4 separate regions of the Homo sapiens genome follow, and all the other regions are linked to region 3. The links are contacts of gene promoters, found by promoter capture Hi-C in blood cells and fetal thymus (Javierre and others, 2016). All regions are on one chromosome and are shown on one strand. The core of a region is centred on a gene start or on the middle of the fragment in contact, and the rest is flanking DNA. Distances in the headings are between cores, read along the strand shown. Region 1 overlaps NIBAN1 (niban apoptosis regulator 1). Region 2 overlaps SWT1 (SWT1 RNA endoribonuclease homolog). Region 3 holds the start of NIBAN1 (niban apoptosis regulator 1). Region 4 overlaps LOC105371649 (a long non-coding RNA gene).

Region 1 (2,700 bases), core at 22-2,521, 130 kb after region 3:
TCCCTCCTTCTTAGGAAGAAAATGGATCATGGGTCAGTTTAATTTCTTAGGTCTTTGGAAAAAGGTTACGAATAATGAAGCTGGGATGTATTGTCCTAGACAAGGGTAAACTGCAGTAGTTAAAAGTTTTAAGTAAGGTTAGCTCCTTTTTGGAGCTGAATCTGCATGGGACTAGAAATCTATATTGTGCCTATTATTTTTATTCTTATTTTCCGACCTGATAAAATGAGTTATTTATTCATATGACCTTGGGCAATGACATAAACTTCTTCGATTTCAGTTTTTTCCATTTTCTACCAGAAATGATTACATCTGGCTTACCTGTCTCATGAGATTGCAGTGAGAATCAAATGAAATGTTGTAAATTGTAAAAGCCTCTGACAAGTTCAAGGTAGATGCTATTATTAATCATTGGTAATGATGATGAGTAGAATATTCCCAGATAGCATCATCAGACAGTGCTACACTCTGTAGGTGTGTTAGGCTAGGACATGATGAGTGATGCCAATTAATGCCAGTGATTTGTTCTCTCATGTAAAGCTAGCCAAGTTATTTTACTGTCTGCCTTTACTTGTAGAAAGTGTGCTCTCACAGATGTTGGTAAGACTAAGGTGTTCTGATTTCACAAGATGCAGGTAATCCATAGAATCAGTCAGGAAGAATGTCCCTAGTATTTTTATGTGCTACAGTGATAAATTATACCAAGACCCGTTTGTCAACAGCATTTCCAGAAATAAGAGAAAGTGTCATCAAAAATGAAGGACAAGTCGTGACTAAAGAAGCATCTTCCCTATTTGTTTGAACAGTCAAGCTTGCTTTAAATCGTATCCAAGTTGTGTAGTAAACTTGCCTGCAGAGAGTAAGCCACACAGATGCCCACAACGTCACTGAGAGGCACGTGACCCAGTTTCTGTGGTCTGAGCTGAAAGATAACCCGGGTGTGTGATGGCCACACCTGCCTGTAAAACATTATATGGTGGGCACTTTTTCAAATTCACATTTTTAAAGAGGGAATTAGATGGTTTTCATTTGTTTTGCTTAGGTTTTGTGGTGTAATTTTTTTCTCCAGAGGTCATCTCAGCAGCATCTCCATAAATAATTATCAAGGGATTGGGAGATAGTTTTGCACTCACTGTCTTAGAATACAAATCTTCCCATACAAAGCCATATAGATTTGTCCAGGGAAGATAGGAAATAATTGATTGTGTCATTGTTCTCTTGGCCTGACTTTGCTCCGGTGGCTATGGCACACGGGGTGATAGATTAACTCTTTCAGGTGTATGGAAAGCATGTTCAATGAATCACAACTTCAGCACACAGAGTATTTTGATGGTATTTGGAAAGAAGCAAATATTCTCTCTTTTTTTTTGCGGGGGGGAAAGTGTCTGATGACACCATCCATACTTTTTAGAAAAGACTGGAGTGTGGGTCATTTTCATATCTGTAAGGCTTTGAAAAAAAACTTATGGTAAAGAAACAGATCATTCATGCTAGGGAAAGAAAGCTATCACAGACAAGCTATAATCCACATATCCACTGAGTGCCAGAAAAGAGAAAATGAGATCAATCAGGGTTACATCTGGGGATTTACATCCAGACAATGATGACTGCTTCCGAAGGGAGGAGGAAGGGGTTCCACCATGGGTAGAGTTCTAGTTGTTTGGAATGGCGTCCTCATGAACCCACCTGAAGTGTTGATTCCTTATCCACATATTTTTTGATAAAGCTTCATTGTGGTACTATTTTTAACCATCACTTTGACTAAATGCGAGGGTTCATTTGTGTTAAGTGGGTGAGCAGTTGACAGAGTAGACCTTTTGTAACCTGCTAAGGAGGGAACAAGGTCATCAAGACGCTAAGCATTCAAGAACCATGGTCTTCTACTATCACCTTTGCTTTTGTGTCATTTTTTTTTTCTCAAACGTGATGTGTAAATCAACTGCAACAGAATTACCTGAAGAGCTTGTTTAAATACAGATTCCTGGATCCAATTCCAGGTCTGTTGAATCAGAATATCTATGGCAAAACCAAGAATGGATTTTTTTTTTTTTTTTTTGAGACAGAGTTTCACTTTTGTCGCCCAGGCTGCAATGGCACGATCGTGCAAAGGCACAATCTCGGCTCACTGCAACCTCCGCCTCCCGGGTTCAAGTGATTCTCCTGCCTCAGCTTCTAGAGTAGCTAGGATTACAGGCGCCCGCCACCACGCCCGGCTAATTTTTCATTTTTAGTAGAGACGGGGCTTCACCATGTTGGCCAGGCTGGTCTCAAACTCCTGACCCCAGGTAATCCGCCTGCCTCGGCCTCCCAAAGTACTGGGATTACAGGCGTGAGCCACCATGCCCGGCCTTACCACAAGTGATTCTGATTTGAGAACCACTCTCCTAATGCTGGGTAGAGGAGTGGTTCTCAAAGTGTGTTCCTGGACCTGTAGCATCAGCATCACCTCGGGAGCTTCTTAGAAATGCAAATTCTTGGGCCCTGCCCCAGACCTATTGAATCAGAAACTCTGGGAGTGGGGGCCAGCTATCTGTTTTAGCAAGCCTGCTAGGTGATGTTGATGCTCACCAAAATCTGAGAAGCACTGGGGTAGAGTACATCAGTTCCCTTCAGTATCTCTTTACAACAGTAGGGAAGGCAATCGTTAAGACAATGTGAATCATTTGCAACCTGGGTTTGTTTGTAACCATGAAATTTCAA
Region 2 (2,700 bases), core at 180-2,679, 200 kb before region 3:
AGTGGCGCGATCTTGGCTCACTGCAAGGGCCGCCTCCCAGGTTCACGCCATTCTCCTGCCTCAATCTCCCAAGTAGCTGGGACTACAGGTGCCTGCCACCATGCCCAGCTAATTTTTTGTATTTTTAGTAGAGATGATGTTTCACTGTGTTAGCCAGGATGGTCTCGATCTCCTGACCTCGTGATCCGCCCACCTCGGCCTCCCAAAGTGCTGGGATTACAGGTGTGAGGCACCAGGCCTGGCCACAGTCCACAGTCTTAATACCTAAAAGCAGGTAGGCTTAACCATCCCTGTTTATCAGTGGTCTCTACATTTCAGAATTTCTGAAGTTCTAAAATTCCAAGGTTCCACAGTTCTGAAAGTTCTCTTGAAGATAAGTAACTTTATTTGACATAGAAACAAAATTATAGAGATTAGGTTCTCAAAGTAGTCCATAAATGGCAATTACATTACATAATTTTAAAGCAAAATAGATGTGCCAAGCTTTCTAGCCTAGATCCCTGCTCATGTAGCTCCCTCTGCCTAAAATATCCCGGCTTCTCCCATTCTACCTCACTTCACCTCCACTTAAGTAACTTCGACTCATTCTTTAGGTCTGTTTAAATGTTACTCCCTCCAGCCTCCAGTAAATCTTTTTTTTTTTTTTTTTTTTTTTTTTTTGGAGACAAGGTCTCTTTCTGTCACCTAGGTTGGAGTGCAGTTACATGATCAGCTCACCATAACCTTGAGCTCCTGGGCTCAAGTGATCCTCCCACCTCAGTCACCTGAATAGCTGGGACCACAGACTCACGCCACCACACCCAGCTAATTTTTATGTTTTTGTTGAGACCCGTCTCGGTATGTTGCCCAGGCTGGTCTTGAATTCCTGGCCTCAGACAATCTGCCTGCCTGGGCCTCCCAAAACACTGGGATTACAGGCGTGAGCCATTGTATCCAGTCCCCTCCAGTATACCTTTCTAAACTAATTCTTTCATGATGTACCAAAGCTATATTAATCCCCTGCTGTGTATTCTCTTATTAAGTGATAGGTATTATACTTTTCCTATTTAAGGAAATTGCTTGTGTCTCTCTTCACTTGAATAAGTCCCTGAAAACAAACTGTGTTATCTCTTACAAGCTATTTTATTGTGGTGCCTGGTACACGGTGACACTGAAAAAAATAAACTGTTTAAAGACTATTCAGAATATTGTCCCGAGTGTTCTCCAGCATACAATGCTTTTTTCAAAGGACTATCTATAACTGCTTCTCACCACATTTTTACACATTCCTTTCTATTATGAATCCTTGATACCTGCCAAAATATCTTCCTAAAAAAGTTGGAATTAAAGAGAGTAAAATAAAGAAACCAACACATATCTTCATGAATAAATTTGAATCAGCCATCTATGATTATCATCAGTAATAGAAACAACTAAAAAGGCCATGTGCAGTGGCTCACGTCTGTAATCCCTGCACTTTGGGAGGCTGAGCAGGGGCGAACTGCTTCAGCCCAGGAGTTCAAGACCAGCCTAAGCAACATGGTGAAACCTCATCTCTGCAAAAAACACCAAAGTTAGCCCAGTGCGGTGATGTGTGCCTATAGTCCCAGCTACTAGGGAGGCTGAGGCAGGAGGATTGCTTGAACCCAGGAGGTCAAGGCTGCAGTGAGCCAGGATCGTGCCACTGCATGCACTCCAGCTTGGGCAACGGAGTGAGACCCTGTCTCAAAAACAAAAAACAAACAACAACAAAAAAAAAAAAAAACAGAAAAAAATATAGAAATACAGAAAAAACTTAACTATATTAATAAACTCTCAGTTAAAACCTATATTCTTCATTTTTTACTACCTTACCTGGGTTAGGTTTTCCCTAGAATGTGAATCATTACTTTCTTGATGGTCATAATGATGTTTTCGTTTCCACTCATGAACAGTCCGCTTATATGTAAAATCTGAAAGTAAATGTTCAGTTTTCTGCCTAGTCACATTTAATGAAACCTGGGAGCTTTCCAGGTATTCTCTTTCTTCCTGCTTAGTCTTCGAATTATTAGAATCTATGTTGAAGACATTTTCTTCTACAAGTTTCTGGAGGGTGTCACGGGATTTTATAGGGATTTTGAAACTGATCTTCTGTCTTCTAGATCCCAAGGGTTCCTTAATTATCTTGTTGGAGTTATAATCCTGAGAAAATTGATTTCTCTTCCATTTCTCTAAGACACATTTTTCAGAATTGTCTCTAAATTTACTGTTTCTTCCTTTCTTGAGTTCTTTCATCTTCTCTCTCTGAACAAGTAAATGAGACCATTTATTTTCACTTGCCTGGCCTTCGGCTTTAGGTTTCACATCACTGGCAATCTTAGGACTACTAAGGCTTTTAATTCCATGGTCAAGCTTGCTCCCAGCATTTGTCAATTTGATATCTTTAGGTTTAAAGTCTACACATTTATGTATGTCTTTTTTAGTTCCATTTGAAGAAGGACTCTGCAAAATAATTTGATTATCATTTGAATATGATGCTTCTTTGAGTTTAATAGGTCTTTGGGATGAAGAACCGATTTTTGGTCTCCTTCTGAGAGTGTCAATTTCTACACTCAATCTGTAAAACAGCACAGAAACCTAGGTTACATTATAATTATACATAATGTTGCACTCTATCATTTTAGTTAGAATAACAGAATTGGGCTGACATTAAGCTTCATAAAAAGTAGAAATAGCTACATT
Region 3 (2,700 bases), core at 191-2,690:
TAATGAAGAGCAAGTGGCAGAGAGAGGTGATGGCTGGTGTTCCTGGGTCAAGGAGAACCTCTCTGAATTACTAGCATTAAAGTGGAGGCTTGAATGAAATGACTGAGAGAGTAACCTATGTGAATATCTGAAGGAAGAGCATCCTACAGAAATGAAAAACAAGTGCAAAGGCCCTGAGCTTGATGTGTCTCAGAAAGAGTAAAAAAAAAGGCTAGTAGGGCTGGAACAGAGAGAACAAGGAGTGGTGGTAGAGAAGATCACAGAGGAAACTCCACCTAGGCCCTGATAGACGTCGTGGCTTTTCTCTGAAGAAGGTAGATCAGTTAGGCAGCTAGTGTAATGAATAAGGTGAGGAATGATATGGGATGTCAGTAGAGGGGATGAGAATTGGTTGGCTATTGGACATATTTAAAAGCTGAATTGACAGGATTTACTGACAGATTGGAATGTAGAGTGTGAGAGATTGGGTGTGAGTGTGATGAAATAATTGTGTTAAAGTGCAAGTTAGCTAATAGGGAAGGCGGGGGTGTGTGGGAAAGCCTTCAAAGTCCTCCTCAGGCCTGGTTCTAGTGTATACAGACCATTTGACCTTGAGGTTAAGTCAATAGGAGTCGCAAAATAACTGACTACTAAGAATAGGATGAAATCAGCGGTGACCCCTCTGCCCAAGTGGGTCTTGTTCCGAGAGGCTGCCAAGCTAAATAGTGGTTGTGGGAAAAGAACAAATATCTTTTCTAATGATTGATTTCCAGTTAAGGAGAGGAATGGAAAGTAAAGGGGTAAGGACAGACGTTCATCAAGTCTTAGGAAGTTTCAGGGCTGGGAGTATATTGCAGGACCAAGCCTTAGTTTTTCCCTGTCTTTCCATTTTTTTTTCTCTTTCCTTTTTTCCTCATTTCCCCACTCCCTCCTTGGTCCAGGTTCTCGCCTGCAGAAAGGTATAGTTTACCTCTAGTTCTCAAACTTCAGCGGGCATCAGAATTCCCTGGAGGGTTTGTGCAAACACAGATTGCTGGGCTCCACTCCCACAGATTCTAAGTGTGTGTGTGTCTGTGTGTGTGTAGAGGGGTGGTGGACGAAAGCGCTGAGATTTTGTATTTCTAACAGGCTCCCAGGTAATGCTTGGGAAGAACTGTTGCTTCTTGGACAGCAACACTTACAAGGCAACGTGATCTTGAGCTCCACCTCGAAGGATGTGAGCTGGGAAAGTTCCAGCTCACAGAGATTTAGTCACTTGAGAAATGGTCCACTTCCTCCAAGGTGTTTCTTGGATGCCCCAAAGGGATGAAAACAAGAAGTGACCGTGGGCGAGGAGGAGGAGCTGGCCGACCTCCTCGGTTGCCAGCCCGTCGGAGCTCACCAGCTAGGCGAGGGCGGGAAGACAGCCCCCGGGCCGGCCCACGGATCATCAGAAGGCGCGGACCTGGAGGAGGCGCCCCAGAAGGCGACGCCTCTTGCCTCCTGTCTCTCGCCTCTCGAAGGAAGTTTGCTCTTAATTTCAGAGCCGGGTTCGCCGTCGGATCAACCTCCAGGAGCTAGCAGCGGGCGCGGACCGGGCAGTTTCCGCGCTCAGCACAGGCAGCTCGCGGTCATGGGCGGCTCAGCCTCCAGCCAGCTGGACGAGGGCAAGTGCGCTTACATCCGAGGTACGCCCGCCCGCCCGGGGGCCTGGGGAGCACCCTGACCCGTGCACCAGGCTGGCTGCCGCGGTCGGGGCCCCAAGGGGCGCGCCCCGGGCCCTCTCCCTGTAGCGCGCGGGGATCCCCGACCGCAGCCCGCCCGCGCGAGTCGGGTTTCCTGCCCCAGCCGGCGCGCTCCGGCGCGGGTGTGGACCGGGGACCGGGAGGGCTTGGGAGCGAGGCAGGTGCAGGATGCGGGTGGGGACGCCGGCGCCTTCGCCGCTCCCGCCGCCTCGGGGTCAGTGCCGCCCCCGCCCGGCGCACTTCGCCCTCCAGTACCTGCCCTGGACTGAGTTCTGAGCGGTTTCTGAACTGGCCGCCAAGAGAGCAGCGGGGATATCCCGCGTTTCTAGAGATACCCCTGGGGATTCCCGGCAGCTAAAGCAGAATTTCCCTCTTAGTAATGTTGGCCTGGCTTTGGAAAGCGCGGCGTTGGCCGCAGCTTCGCTCGCACTTCATCCTAGCACTTGCAGGATGATTTCATCAGCGGCAAAAAGGACAATGTCATGCCGTTCCCTTCCCGCCCCGGAGAGGGGCGAAGCAAAAGAGGAACACTGGCGTGCTTTGTAACTGCCCGAAAGTTACAGATGGGGAGAAACTCATTTAGGGAGACCCTCAGAGATGTGGGGACTCAGTAGAGAGCGTGAGGCTGCAAAACAAACAAAACAAAACCCAAACCGAACTGAAACTGCAGGAAGTCCTGACTCGTTATCTCCTTTATTTCCTGGGCGTATTTGGCCTCCCCTCTTCTCACCCCCCACCCCAAACTTGCCTTCAACCGCTACCTAACATTTGGTTATCTTACCAATTTACTGTCTTTCCCCCGCCCCGCCGCCAGATCCCCCACCCTCGGCTTCAGAAATATCTTCCAGACTATGTATTAAACTCTAGGTTTATTTGGCCCTTGAATCCTTTCCTAAGAGGAAATCATTTATTTGGTGTTCTTATTCCACATTTGTTTTCAGTCACCACAACATTTAAGACCGTTTTAAAAAGATATCAAATCAGGGTACGTGAAGAG
Region 4 (2,700 bases), core at 195-2,694, 210 kb after region 3:
GGAAGAGGAAGTGATGTGAAGTGATGCAGAGAAAAACCAGGAGAAAACATTAAACATTAGAGTGGGGGCCTTGGGAACCCAGAGATTGCGCTAAAATTGGGTGCAAGTCTCCCAAAAAGGGCTAGGAAGGCTCTGAAGATTATATTTGCTTAAGAGCTACTTCTGTAAATAATAATGTCTATTAATCTCTAGCAATGGATGAAAAATAGTACATTTTGTGCACAATGAAACTATACTTGCCTCATCATCTAGTGCCAAGAAAAATATGGTGATCTTCAAGAAAGCCGTGTATCTAACACCACTCTCTCAAAGTTTTAAGTATAATCATGTATTTGAAGGTTGTATACTGATTTTAAAGTATCACAAAGAGATTGATCTGCAAATAAACCAAGAACTCTTTATTCTACTTCTCATCCATCACAAACCTTTACTACCCCCACTTATTACCTAAAAGCCCTACCTGTAAAAAATCAAGCAAAAAACAATCCCAACCAAAAAAACTCCAAACTTATCAATACATTTGGAGAAGAAACAGAAATAAGCACTGTTTTCATAGAACTTTAAGCTGGAGGCCAGGAAATATTTAATTTCAAATATTTAAGGACTGTCAGCATTTACCTCTGAGGTTAAGAAATGCTGGGGATTGACAAATTTGGACCACTCTGAGGATTACAAGAACAGGAAGAAAGGGTGAAAAGACAGTACTACAAGTATGTGTATACAAATACATACATGTGCAATATATGTATATTGTATATGTGTATATATTTATATATACTCATATACAAAACATATATGTATATGTATGCAAAGGGAGCTCCTAGGAAGAACACAGGGTTTGGATAACAATTCTAGGAAGAATGTCGGATTTGGATAATGAGAAATGATAGGATCATTACAGAAATAACTTATTTTTAATTCTTAAGTGTCCTAATGTTGGGGATTACTCTACCTAATGCTTTTTGACAAGATCAACTGGGCACCTTTCACTTTGATCCTTAATTTCATAATTAGATAACCAGTAAAACTATCTTTCTAAATCCCTTGGAGGTTGGAGGTAAGATGAGCTTTTACAAAAACAAAGTAAAACTGAAGAAAGTCACACAAACAAAAAAGCTGCAAAGATTTTCTGACAACTTTATTCCAGAACGTTTATAACTTCAAATGTCTTACAAATGAAGCCATTATTAATTTTAAGAGGACAGAAAAGTACCTTGTGTTTTTGTGCGTATTTACTCTAATACAGGGATGAGGCGCTATAGCTCATACAAACTGTGCCTGAATTCAACAGTCTCTGGAGTTGCTGGCCTAAAGAGGGCTACATTTTTGGATGGGGAGCCTGCAATGGCAGCACGAAGTAAGCAAGCAAAGGAAGTAGACAAGATTCAGGGCTGGGGCCAGGCATGGTGGCTCATACCTGTAATCCTAGCACTTTGGGAGGCGGAAGTGGGAGGATCGCTTGAGTCCAGGATCTCAAGACCAACCTGGGCAACATGGTGAGACCCTGTCTCTCTTTCTCTCTGTTTTTAAAAAAATAATAATTAAAAAAGAAAAAAAGATTCAGGGCTGAAAATAAAACCAGAGCCATGGGTGCTGTTGGAGCAGCTGCACTCACCCTTGAATCCTACTCTCAACAATGGCGATGTTTTCTCTTTACCTCATAATCATGATATGGATACCTACTATTTATTGAGTTCCTTCAAACTGTACTAAATATTTTACACACACCATCTCATTATCTTCACAACATCCCTAAAAGGAAGGCATAACAATTAAACCATTTAATCTTTCTAAAAATGCTGTGAGGTAGGTATTATTCTTATTCTCATTTTACAAATGAGGAAACAAAAGCACAGAGATTTAGTCATTTGCTTAAGGAAGCCCAGCCAATAATCAGCAGAGCTGTCTCAGAGCCATTGTTCTTGGCCTGAATGGTACCTGTGCAACTGTTGTTGAATGGTGCTCACCTAAATCCTGTGGCCACACTGTACCAATAAGTGGGAACTATGCTGATGGTGAAATGGGGATTTAAGAGAGGGAACAAACACAAAATGTACTCCCTCGAAGAGCCATGTGACTTGGTTTTGCTTCTGATACTTGAAGTAAATGGAAAATGGCCACTAAATAAGTGACCCAACCAAATAATCATGACACATGAGCAAACTTTCTTGCCTGAGAGAGTTGGAGCTAGTGCCAGTGAGAGAAATGGGATAATAATCTGAAGGTGAAGTGATTTTGAAGATCTCAAATCAAGATGGAGAGGTGGAAAAAGCCCTGGGGACATCTTTTGGGGAGGTGAATCATCTGAATCTCTCATTCTCTTTCTTAGAATTTGAAAAAATCAGTCCGACAGCCACGCAGGAAGTCAGTTGACGACATTCACCGAGTATCTTTGTCATGAGGTGCTCTTTCTAAGGCCTCAAAGTCACTAATTGTGAATGCAGAATAATTACTGTCTTTATTTAATGTTTGCAAGATTGGGTTCTCTAGAAGAAAACTGTTGTCAATTCTGCATGCTATCAAAGAATAGGAAAAGCAATTTGAAGAATGACAAAATCACCACTCCCAAATTCCATACTAGTTTCAGGAGTAATTAGAACTGTAGTACTAAAGAATTCAAATCATTTAGGGGCAACTGCTGTTCTATGACCAGTTTTGCACAGCTGGTCCCAGCTTCCTAGGACTATTTCTGAGCCATAA

What was found. Contacts are between HindIII fragments. The CHiCAGO score rates a contact against its expected background, and 5 or more counts as called.
Region 1: a contact is called between a fragment that was not itself captured here and the fragment with the promoter of NIBAN1 in region 3, in 8 of 17 cell types (total CD8 T cells, neutrophils, naive CD8 T cells and 5 more). The highest score is 13.3, in total CD8 T cells.
Region 2: a contact is called between a fragment that was not itself captured here and the fragment with the promoter of NIBAN1 in region 3, in 2 of 17 cell types (megakaryocytes and erythroblasts). The highest score is 7.4, in megakaryocytes.
Region 4: a fragment that was not itself captured here is called in contact with the fragment with the promoter of NIBAN1 in region 3 in 6 of 17 cell types (neutrophils, monocytes, megakaryocytes and 3 more); the score reaches 13.9 in neutrophils.

The regions. Positions count from the first base shown.
Region 1 is chr1:184,842,121-184,844,820 of GRCh38, reverse strand. The region is part of intron 5 of NIBAN1 (niban apoptosis regulator 1); the gene reads left to right. Among named protein-coding and RNA genes, the nearest start is that of EDEM3, 89 kb to the right of the region's middle. RefSeq lists a silencer at 878-967. The HindIII fragment of the contact is 915 bases long and covers 814-1,728 here.
Region 2 is chr1:185,174,247-185,176,946 of GRCh38, reverse strand. SWT1 (SWT1 RNA endoribonuclease homolog) reads right to left here. Exons shown (of 19, transcript NM_017673.7): 5 at 1,834-2,575. Among named protein-coding and RNA genes, the nearest start is that of SWT1, 18 kb to the right of the region's middle. The HindIII fragment of the contact is 1,887 bases long and covers 486-2,372 here.
Region 3 is chr1:184,973,248-184,975,947 of GRCh38, reverse strand. It overlaps NIBAN1 (niban apoptosis regulator 1), which reads left to right and starts at 1,440. Exons shown (of 14, transcript NM_052966.4): 1 at 1,440-1,646. The coding sequence starts at 1,592. RefSeq lists a silencer at 1,656-1,975 and an enhancer at 2,086-2,255. The HindIII fragment of the contact is 8,420 bases long and covers 1-2,700 here.
Region 4 is chr1:184,759,423-184,762,122 of GRCh38, reverse strand. The region is part of intron 2 of LOC105371649 (a long non-coding RNA gene); the gene reads right to left. Among named protein-coding and RNA genes, the nearest start is that of EDEM3, 5.9 kb to the right of the region's middle. The HindIII fragment of the contact is 8,455 bases long and covers 1-2,700 here.